Linked DNA regions of Homo sapiens: all the other regions are linked to region 3. The links are contacts of gene promoters, found by promoter capture Hi-C in blood cells and fetal thymus (Javierre and others, 2016). All regions are on one chromosome and are shown on one strand. The core of a region is centred on a gene start or on the middle of the fragment in contact, and the rest is flanking DNA. Distances in the headings are between cores, read along the strand shown. Region 1 overlaps ADAMTSL1 (ADAMTS like 1). Region 2 overlaps ADAMTSL1 (ADAMTS like 1). Region 3 holds the start of ADAMTSL1 (ADAMTS like 1).

Region 1 (3,605 bases), core at 1,003-3,502, 350 kb before region 3:
AACCCACCAGTGCCAGGGTGGGGATTCAAACTGAGATACCTTTAATGCCAACAGTCCCCATCTTAACAAGTGTACACCGCCTGCCATTATACTAGCCTGACTCTTGAGAGAAAATCTGAACTGCTGCTTTACTATTTCTGAACTGTCAAAGGCTTAATTCCTTTCTACTTTCAGAATTAATGTTTCTGCTGTGGTTGTAAAACCAAGGTGTTGTCAGGAGAGAGGTTCCAGAATCCATGTGTTCTGGCTTTTTAGCTCTTTCTTGTTGAGAAGCTTGGTCAGGTTGCGGGAGATGATCTTTTCTAGCCTGCTGTAGTGTGACAGCAAATGCCACAAAAACAAACACCTGAAAATGACAGAAAATATGCTCTACCACAGAACAAAATCCAAAAGCTATGTTGTTGTGGACCAGCTACTTGGATAGGCTCCACATGCTAACCTCCCTGGTATTATTTGTATCTTAAAACAGCGAAGGAAAAGAACCCACGTTTGCATTTTCCCCTGTGGTGTATCTTTTCAACAGCCCCATGCTCTCCCTGCTGCTTGAAAGGATCAGTAAAAGAGCTTAGTCATACTGGGTGGTAACTTGATATGATTACAAGGTCCAGTGCCTTTGATGTCCATGGAGCTGCCAGGTAGGGTGATGCTAAAATATTCTTTTTTAAAAAGTCCCAGACAGGGTATTCTTGTTAACTGGATCCCTTATTACATTTGGAAGGCTGCCTGCACCATGGCGGTGTGTCAACATCTCAAGGTGGGGTTTCCACTCAAAGGTGCACCTTTACATGGGAAATTCTAGAAGCTTCCTAGGAGGTGTGGAGGTAGGGTGGCTTAGGGAAAGAAAAGAGAAAGGATACAGTAACTCAACTGTCAGTCTTGTCAATTATTCTAAAAAACCAAGGCAGTCTGGAAAGAAGGTTTCCAGCCTTCCACGTTTCTCCATACTGACTGTGGCAGACAACGATAGCTGTTCACAAAACCAGTTTCCCTCTTTTTCCTGAGTACCCAGTGAGCCTACCTTCCCCAGCATCCTTTGTAGTTGTGCGTGGCCATGTGACTAAAGGATTGTGAAAAGTCTTAATGTATGCTCCTTCCAGGCGTGGCCCTTAAAAGCCTTCTCAACCATCCTCCGTATTCTGTTTTCCCCTCTCCTGGTTGATAGGATAGAGGTAACCCCTATGGAGACCTTGGAAGGCATGTGTTCCAGATGTCAGACCCACCAGCATCCTGTGACCCTGCATGACACTGTGGGGGCAGATCCTCTCCAGATGACCAGGTGTACTCTTTGGGCTCTTAGATAAGCAAAAATAAACCTTCTATTGTATTTGAGCCATTATACATTTGGGGGTCTACTTGATACCAGAGTCTAATCTATCCTAATACACCACCCATCACTGACTCTTGAACTATTTCTGCATCCTTAGTCCTGCTGATTTTATCTCCTAAGTAAGTCCTTCAAATACTTCCTTTGCTTTTAGGAGAAAAACCTAAACTGTACCATAATCTATGAGAACATGTAAGATCTAGCCCCTGCCTACCCACACCTCCTCAGCCTCATATGCTACTTTCTTCTCTGCTCTTGATATTATAGCCACACCACCAGCCAGGTTTTACTTCTTTAAATGCAGCATGCTCTTTCTACCTCAGGCCCTTTGCACATTCTGTTCCCATTTACTGAAACACTGCTTCTTCCCCTGATCCTTTATCGCCGACTCAGTTTTCTGACCTCTTCAGAGAACAAATAGAGAACAAGCATGGGAGTGATACAGTGGATTAGGTCACTTTTCAAGAAAAAGCCTATCATACTCATTGCCTAATGCTGTTGATGCTTCAGGATTGGGAAGAATGTGAGGCTGCATTTTGTAAGCTGAAAGCACATGTACGCAAAAAGTTGTTTAATGAAAAACTGCTAACAATTCAAACATGTGAGTTGGTCTAGGTAAATTACATAATATTCTTAATATAGGCTATTATATAGCCATTAAAATTATGCTTATGACACAGACAAATGTTTATTACTGAGAGGAAATAAAGCAGGATAAAAGGGAATCATTAAGGAAATTAATAAAATGTCAGCTGTGGTTGAGTTTGGAGAGAACGACTTTGAACAAGCTGTTTTCTTTCCTTTTTGGACTCTTAAATTTTTCTGTGTTTTCTAAAATTTCTTTAATACTCTAATATTTTATAATAAGAAAACAACAACCGTATCTACATATCACATTGTATTATCATTACATATTTCATAACTTTTCTCCTTCCCAGACTGTGAGCTTCCTGAAAATTGTATCTTGTTTATCTGTGGCTCCTTGGATTAGGAGAAATTTGATCTAACCTGGATTAAATACTCCATAAAAAACTGCTAAATGAATAACATGAATGAATATGACATAAAATACTGCTTTAAGCAGGCCCTTATGGAGTCCCTCTTCCCTGTCTATTACGAGAATCTGGGTTGCAAATTCTCAAGCTAGAGTATTACCTACTGGCAGTGTTATTGGTGCTTAGAGAATCCCACCTAACCAATCAGGAGGTCACTAAGCTGCCTGACTGGGAATGGGATAGAGGTGACCAAGAGTAAGGAAAGAGCCTTAAGAGCTGCTTATAGCAGCAAAGTAAAAGTAATCCTCTGCCATTTGGCATTTAGCATTATAGCTGTCAGTGTTTTAACTGGAGACTAAGCTCACAGATGATTTCCTTGTCCAGCAAATTCACTGTGTAATTATAAGCAGGCTCTTTCCCACCTACTTTGAATGAGTATCTTGTTTAACAAGAGGAATAAGGACAAATATACAAATAATTATTTTAGTTAATCAGCATTAATACAGATGGTTTTATGGATAAAAACAAAAATAAAGACTGCAATGTCATAGCCAGGGAAAACTAGGTATATCAGGTTCTCACTATAAGGTTATCAAGTGAGCCTCTGGATGAAGTCCCAGAGAGAGGGCCCTAGGCGGCACAATAGAGTGGCCAAAGCTCGTTTTAATATCTTAGGCTCCCCAACGTAAATACTTCCTCAACCAGATTCTGGTCCTCTCAATCTCCTTTAAATGCCCATTTCCTTGTTTTGCTGCACTTTCCTCCCCTATTTTTTTTTTTTTTTTGAGACAGAGTCTTGCTCTATTGCCCAGGCTGGAGTGCAGTGGTTCGATCTCGGCTCACTGCAATCTCTGCTTCCTAGGTTCAAGTGACTCTCATGCCTCAGCCTCCTGAGTAGCTGTGATTACAGGCACTTGCCACCATGCCTGGCTAATTTTTGTAATTTTAGTAGAGATAGGGTTTCACCATGTTGGCCAGGCTGGTCTCAAACTCCTGACCTCAGGTGATCCACCCACCTTGGCCCCCCAAAGTGCTGTGATTACAGGTGTGAGTCCCCATGCCTGGCCCCTCCCCTATTCTTTTACTCCTACCAGTTCCACCTCTCAAGAAGATACACAACATGGTCCATCATATCACCAGTGTTTCATCGCCAAAGCATGTGTCCATAGTGATCAGGTGTGTGTTGAGGGGTGATGGTTCTGCAGAAAGGGCTCTACTGGCACCACCATTAATCCCTGCACAGAGGGGTAGCTCATTCATGCCAACCCCTGTCAGGGGTTTTGTCT
Region 2 (3,679 bases), core at 122-2,621, 310 kb before region 3:
CTGCTCTCACACTATAATGACAGAGTTGAGTATAGTCAGTTTAAGAACAGTCAAAGGTCATTCCTTACTCCTGATGCCTGCAAATCCTAAAATGTTTACTATTTGGCCCTTTACTAGAAAAGTTTGCTGACTTCTGGCATATAACATGGAAAAATTTTCATTTCTGGTTTATCTCAGTGACATCCTTATTTATACTAAAACAGTTAACCACTTTTCTGGAACTCTGCCATGTGCTAGGACCACTCTTCCAGGAAGAGTAAACTAACTGCTAGGGGGATCTCTGGAGATCCCCTAGCATTTCAGGGAATAGATAGTGCCTGACTCTAAGCCTCACTAGTACTGTCTGTTTGCCACTGGTTGTCTACTATCCTCCAGTGCTCTTCACCTGCATGATTCATGATGGTCATTTCTGCGACCACTGTGTTGACACTCAATACTTTTCTTTTGTGAGGCTTATGTATTTACTGGGACGGTTCTTTTTCTCTGGCTTGCTATTCTTACACTTTTCAACTGGGAAAAACATTTGTCATCTCCATTTCCTTTAGCTCTATAAGGGAAACAAGCCAAACCAAACTGAAATGGGCTTGTTTTTCCTTCCCTATCTTCCCTGCCTCTAGTTTTTATATTATCTGCAAACTTGGAAACTGCATTTCATGTGCTTATGACTTGTACATAGAGAATTATTCACAACTATGGTTCTGAAATTGACCCTGGAGGAATTTCCCATCTGATCTTCACTTCCATTCTGAGAAGTTTCCATCTGCTGATACTCTGAGTTGCCCAAGTTAAAGACTTCCAAATATGCCTTAATTCATCTCCTATTCAGCACCACTTTGGAACACTGTACAAAACTTTCTGGGAAATATAATCATTTAGAGGCTACAGATTTCACTTTCCTATCAGCTCAGAGATGATAGCAAAGAATGTCAGTAGAATATCAACATCCCCTCATGATGCCTGGATTTAGGCTGATAATTCTCCATCACGCTGTTTTCCTAGAAACCTTGCTAACCCAACTCTTTGAACAACTACCTAGATGTTCCTCAAATAAGAGTGAAGCTTCTTAGTTTGAGATGTCCTGGAAGACAGTGTGATACAATGGCCCCATGTCTAAATGACAATGATTTTGGATACTGGCAAATGAGTATCCACTGTGTGTCAGGCACGTTACAGACATTATTTCTGTTCTTTGCACTTCTGCTAGTCCGAAGGGCAGAATCAAAGTGCCTAATTGTACTAGTATCATTTTAGTTTAACTAATAAGAAAACCAAGGTTCAGAGAGATAAAAGTAGACTCACAATACTAAGTGGCAGAACTGGGATTTGTGCCAAAGTTGCTCTGATTCCAGCCTTACTGTCTCCTACCACCGTGGGCTGCCCTTTGTGTTAACTGATGTGCCATCAGGTTGCTCCTCTGGCTGAAGGGGTTGGGGAGGATAAGCTGGGAACACCTAGGCCCAGAAGAGAAGGAAAACAGGGAACAGGCTTAGGGATTAAAAGGCTGAAATTCCTTAGACTTAGCCATTTCCCTAGGATTCCATGTTAGTAGGAGTATCACCTGGGAGTGACCTCCCACCCACAGGAAGAAATAAGTATTTTCTTCAAGCATCTAGTTTCATATTATTCTTTAAGTTCACTTGCATTCCTTTTGAAAAGAAAAGAAAGTCTTACTTAAAAGCTTACAGACTTAAATCAGCTGAGCTATGAGGAATCTGTGATTTTGGGTTACTCCTGGTTCAATAGTGTTAAGTGGTAAGCAAGGCCTTCCCTGACAGTGTGGTGCTATCAGCAGTATGTAGGTGTTTCTTGGGGGAATGATCAATCCTCATCCAGTAATTTTTCCTAATTTGGTAATCCAATGTGCAGTGCCAATTTTGGAGAATCTGGCTCTTCTACAAGGAAGTCAGCACTGCCCTTCCAGGTATTGTTTCTAGAACTGGATTTAGACGTAGGAATACTGAACATATATTTGTCCATATTACGTAAGCCTCCTGGTATTAGATGTAGAGAAGGAAAATTTACCAGGTTCTTTGGCTAGGGGTGTTATACTCTATCCAAAAGCAGACTGGAGTTAGCTTTTGCCTGAGTCTCATCTCCAAATGTGTGCTCAGTGTTTATATAGAATGACTGAAAGCGAGGAACAGTTTAGCTTCATATTGCCTGTGGTCTAGGTCTCTAACCACACATGTGCCTGAGCCATCAACACTGTAAACATGTGCAGTCACAGACACACACAAATGTAGCAATTGTAATGTTTATTGAGTGCCTAATTTAGTGCATATTTGCATACACATGTGTATATATAAAGGTAGCGCTATCAGTAGAAGAAAAGGCTATCTTTAAAGCAGTTATGCCAAAATAAAAACAAAAGCCTCATCAGCTGGAAGCCAGTTGGCTAGAATATTGAATGTTAATTTATGCTGGGTCTAGTTGACCCCAGTGGCCTTCTTATAAAACAGTGGCAAGTCCCTGTATTCAACTAAGGTTATAATCAATAAAAAGAAATAGTTCCAAAAGCCAGACTGCCTTGGATTCAAATCCCAGCTCCATTAAGTTTTTTTTTTTTTAGACGGAGTCTCACTGTGTCACCCAGGCCAGAATGCAGTGGCACGATACCAGCTCACTGCAACCTCCACCTCCTGCGTTCAAGCGATTCTCCTGTCTCAGCCTCCCAAGTAGCTGGGACTATAGGCATGCACCACCATGCCCAGCTAATTTTTGTATTTTTAGTAGAGACAGGGTTTCACAATGTAGGCCAGGATGGTCTCGATCTCTTGACCTCGTGATCTGCCCACCTCGGCCTCCCAAAGTGATGGGATTACAGGCGTGAGCCACCGCGCCTCACCCCAGCTCGATTACTTTTTAAGTGAGAGACTTTGAGCGAGTTAATCTAACATCTCCGTGCTTCAACTCCAATATCGGTAAAATTGGGATAGTAACTTCAAAGGGTTATTGTGAGGATAAATGAACACCTGAAGCCCATTGTAAGTGCTCTATAAATGTTACCTGTGATGATGAGCCTGATGATTTCTCCACTGGCCTGGATGTGGTGGGAGACGGGATGTGATAGGAGATTTACTCTGTACTTATACACACTACAGCAGTGCTTTTCAAATTGCACAGTTGTGTCACAGAATCTCAGGGTTTCCTGAAACTTCTTTAGTGGAGAACATATGGGCAAGTCAGAAATGTTTGGTTAGGAACAGGTATCACTCTGGAACTCTTCCACAATGGCATAGGAAATCCAGACTATAAAAAACCTTGCAGACCGCAGCCTCCTCACAATAAGAAAACCTCCCTCCTAATCGTGGGCATCCAACTATTCATTCCTTTATTTATTCATTCAGTTTTTTATTTGTTGAGTGTCTATCATGTTCTTAGAATTACGGAGAAAATAAGACACATTCTTAAATATAGGCCCTTGAGAATGATTAATAAACTCCAGAAAAACTAACAGCTAATTTTAATACACAATGGTAAGGCCGAGAGAGTATTATGCATAGGGTACTATGTGGATGATGGAGGGGGTCATCTGACCTGGCTTTGGGGATAGGCTTCCTGTAAGGAAGGGCAGGAGTTAGCCAGACAAAGTGGGTCAGAAGGCCCCAGGCACATTTGTGAACAGCAAGTATTTGTGTACTGCTGAAGAGCAGAGCTCAGTTCTATGAGGTCAAGGATA
Region 3 (4,004 bases), core at 1,052-3,551:
AGAAAGCCTAAATATCTGCAACAAAGGGTACAGACCAACCTGCACCACTGTTTTCATTGTTCTTAAATATTTACAACCACCATACGAAGCAAACATGTTCTATTCTCTCCATTATTTGACCTTTGGGTTCAAATGCAAGCTTATTTCATTGCCTGAAAAAACGGGTTTAAAATGTCTTATCTGTATGATTATTGTAAGGATTTATTGTAATGATTTTCAAACAACTAGCCACATTCAGACACAAAATACATGACAGCTATTACTAATGCTGTTATTGCTTGGCAAAGGGATGTATGTAAACATCAGTCAGTTCTTCCTTTTGTAGCATAACTCTCAGATTTCCACTTAATTTAAATGCAGGCATAAAACAAACCTAGGTTTGTTTTAATTTTATCTTTATAATACAATTATTGTAATTTAAATATGATATGTTTTAAGTCCTTCTGAAATAAGCATACATACCTTTTCATTCCACATAAGTCAAATTATATGCTCTAATACATATATGAATATTCAAGATATCACAGAGGGATATAATGCGTTTACCAAATGGATAGCAAAACAATCTATTCCTGAATGGGAAAGTTTTACTAAAGTATAATGAGATCATACTTCCATATGAAAATATCAAAAAAGTAATGTATACTGGTAATTTGCTTTATGATGCAATATAATGGGAAAATAACACACACTTAAAAAAATCACAAAGAAGGAAAGATGAGACAAACTAATGGTGTATACAAGTAACACATCCCATATGGAAAAAATGAGACACCTTTCATAAATCGCTTGCTCCACAAGTCATAAAGCATACCTAAACATTCTGTTCTTTGTATTTTTCAGAACAGCTAAAACTTATAGTTCATTCATGCTTGAAATGTAGTTTACCTTTAAATTTCTATGAAAAATTAAAAATTTATTTCTATATTTATAGCACTTGCAATGCAGCATTATAATTTCTTAGCTACAATGATGCAAATCATTAAGAAGTGGGAATGTATAAAATATTGAATCACTGTCTGATTACTCTATTTGATGAATCTCCTGGACTTTTTCAGTTTGTACCAAATGGCTTTCTTCCCTACTTCAAAATTATAGCGCAGATCAGATTTGTCAGAATATAATCAGAACAAACATTCCTTCCCCATCAAGGAATCAATGCAACCTATTCATTTGCTACATTTTTACCTTGTTCTCTTCCTGCCTTGTTACCTTCTGAGGAAGTTCTGGCATGTTATAAATGTGACAGGAAAAACTACAATCACATTTGTTTGGATCAGTGTGTGCAAATTTTGGAATCAAACCTTCAGATGAGGTTTACTAAGCTGCCTGCCCAGAACACTCTGGTTTAAAAAATGTGCATTGCTATTAATATTTTGAGTGTAGATTTATTTTGGACAGTAAATGTTCATTTTCTGCCCATAAAACCAAGTATGAGTCACAACGGAACATTTACTTCGAGTCAAAAATGCAATGTGTACTGACGTTCAAGAGCAGAGCATCTTATCACTATGACTGTGGCAATCAGCCGTACTAAAAGTCACCATTCCTTTTTCTTCTTTAAAAGTAAATTTGAGATCAAAGGCCATAATCCTCAATTCATAAATCCTAGCATTAACTTCTATCCATAAATGACTTGCAGTAATTAAGAGCCATAATCTGGGTTGGCTGCAAAGAGGCTCTCATTCCCCTCTTTACCTGGTTCCATAGTACATGTGCATAGATGGAAAGTAATTCATTAAAGGCGGTACGGGCAAGCTCTGCAAAGCCTATCCATCAAAAAATTCCAGGAACACCACAGTGAGTGAGTTTAATTTCAGGATGTCTGTTATCCAAATTCCAAGCATACACACCACCATATATACAGTCCTCAGCTCCCAAACTCCATGCAGTATGTCCCAAAGTTCATGTCTCAGTATCAGTATTACTGTATAGCAGTAACTAATTCCAGAAAGTCTTGCAGACTTTATCTTGCTTGGGAAGTTGAGGTTAAAAGTTCTAGAAGGAGTATTCTCTCTTTGTAATCGTGTAAATTATTTTACCTGGAGTTTTAAGATAAAGACACACACACACACACAAACACACATACACACACACACCCCCAACAGCACCCAGACTCAATGGCAATAGCAATGCATTGAAATGAAAAGGCATTTACCAGGAGCAGGAAAGCCAGAAAGAGGAGCAGTGTGCCAGGAGTTGCCCGACGGCAGCATTCCATGCTTGGATCCTTGCCGGAATCAGAATCGGACACTGAATAAGCTGCTAAGTGCTCCTCTGCCTGCTGTCACATCCAGTACTGGTGCTAACACTCCAGTCCTGCCTATCAGCTTCCATCAGCCCCTCTCACATTTCCTGACCGAGGGGTGGGTGGGTGGATGGGTGGGGGGTAAGCTGAATGGAATCTCTCTCGGAGCAGGCAGCCAGCCAATCAGGCTCCTGCTAATCAGACATGCTGAATAACAAAGCCAGGAGGACAGAGAAAGTGTAACGGTGCGAGCAAAAAAGGGGGAAAAGGACGAAAAAGAAAGGCGAGCGAGCAGCAGAGCGAGAAGGGAAATGCAAAAGATGCAGAATTGCAAAAGATGAAGCCAAGCACTGTGCTTCCCATGGACCTGGTTAGTTCTTTGTGAGATGCATTTCTATTTGCCATTTGCCTGTGCTGATGTCTGTTGCTTTGTAAAGTACAGTAGCTCCCTGTGACTGTGTATTGTTCCATTCAGGAGAGAAACTTAATCCCTGTCAATATATAACATATGCCATAAAGGGAAAGAACCATAGACAAAAACCGACTTAATGTGCCCTGTAAATGTGTTCTGTACAACTGTTTTATTTCGCCTCCATAAAGTTCCTCTTTACTTTCTCTCTTGACTTGCAAAATAAATACTCTATACATTTTCTGAAGGTTCCTCACTAAGCCTAAACAGTGGCATAAGTTATTTTGTGTTATTAAGGACTTAATTTGGGGGGAAAAAAACAAAGCAAGTTGCTTCTCTGTAAAGTGACAATTGAAGGCATTTAAGATTTGCTAATTGTAAAGGCACAATTAGAAACTTAGATCCCCCAGTTTAAAAAGAAACCCTCAACAAAGACTCCAGGATGAGTGGGGCTGAAATTTGGGGTTGAGGAGCAGCCTGGTTTTGATGCACTGCCAACTCTCAACTATCTATTTTAGCCACGGGAGAGAAAGAAAGGATGAATTAAATCCTCAGTTAATCCCCAAACCTTCTTTTAACCAAGTTTCAGCTTCCTCCGCACCTCACCCACGTCCTTTATCAGAGCTGTTATAATGCAGAAAAGGCTGAACTGAGTTTTACCTCATTTTTCCATCCACTATTGCAAGAGGGTTGGATGGGATGACCTTGGAGGCCAGTCCAGCCCTGAAGGAAGTGCTAATGAGCAGTGAAATGACGACAAGGCCAGCAACAGCAACGAGAAGGTCAGGAAGCTTCTGAAGCTGCTTAATCCACCAGCAAGGGAGATTTGACTCTACTAGAGGAAGGTTTTATTACAGTTTTAGAAAAGTGTCAAATGTCAAACAAGGATGTATTTCCCCTTATCTGCAAAGGAAATCATTGAGTTTTGAAAGAATAAAAGAGCAGCCCTGGCCTTACATTGCCATAGGTGTGTCATCAGGACGTTTTCCCTTTTCAGATCTCCTGATAGCCCAGAAATATATGCAGTGGAGGTACAAGACATTTAGAATTAATGTTCTTTCCTTTCATTATTAAAAAATACTGACAAGAGGTATGAAACACACGAATATGGAAAACCTGATCAAGCCATAATGGGCATGTGAATACAGGCAGGTCTGCCTATGTACATACCTGCTGCGTTGCTTTTCAAAAAGGTGAAGAAAAGCAGGTTGTTCAACTTTAGGTTACCTACTTCATATGGTATATCAATTAAAGAGAGAGAAACTTTAAAAATCCTATTTTCATGCTGTTAGGAAAGTCAAGGTCATACAAAGATTATCCTTTGTTCTCAATATTAAGTATGTGGAC

Evidence for each region. The method cuts DNA at HindIII sites, captures the fragments that hold promoters and counts their contacts. A CHiCAGO score of 5 or more calls a contact.
Region 1: a fragment that was not itself captured here is called in contact with the fragment with the promoter of ADAMTSL1 in region 3 in 1 of 17 cell types (endothelial precursors); the score reaches 6.3 in endothelial precursors.
Region 2: a contact is called between a fragment that was not itself captured here and the fragment with the promoter of ADAMTSL1 in region 3, in 1 of 17 cell types (endothelial precursors). The highest score is 7.2, in endothelial precursors.

Annotation. Positions count from the first base shown.
Region 1 is chr9:18,818,955-18,822,559 of GRCh38, reverse strand. All of the region lies in intron 21 of ADAMTSL1 (ADAMTS like 1), which reads right to left. Among named protein-coding and RNA genes, the nearest start is that of SAXO1, 210 kb to the left of the region's middle. The HindIII fragment of the contact is 2,896 bases long and covers 805-3,605 here.
Region 2 is chr9:18,784,051-18,787,729 of GRCh38, reverse strand. The region is part of intron 19 of ADAMTSL1 (ADAMTS like 1); the gene reads right to left. Among named protein-coding and RNA genes, the nearest start is that of MIR3152, 210 kb to the right of the region's middle. The HindIII fragment of the contact is 619 bases long and covers 1,062-1,680 here.
Region 3 is chr9:18,472,450-18,476,453 of GRCh38, reverse strand. ADAMTSL1 (ADAMTS like 1) reads right to left here and starts at 2,301. Exons shown (of 29, transcript NM_001040272.6): 1 at 2,159-2,301. The coding sequence starts at 2,221. The HindIII fragment of the contact is 3,309 bases long and covers 142-3,450 here.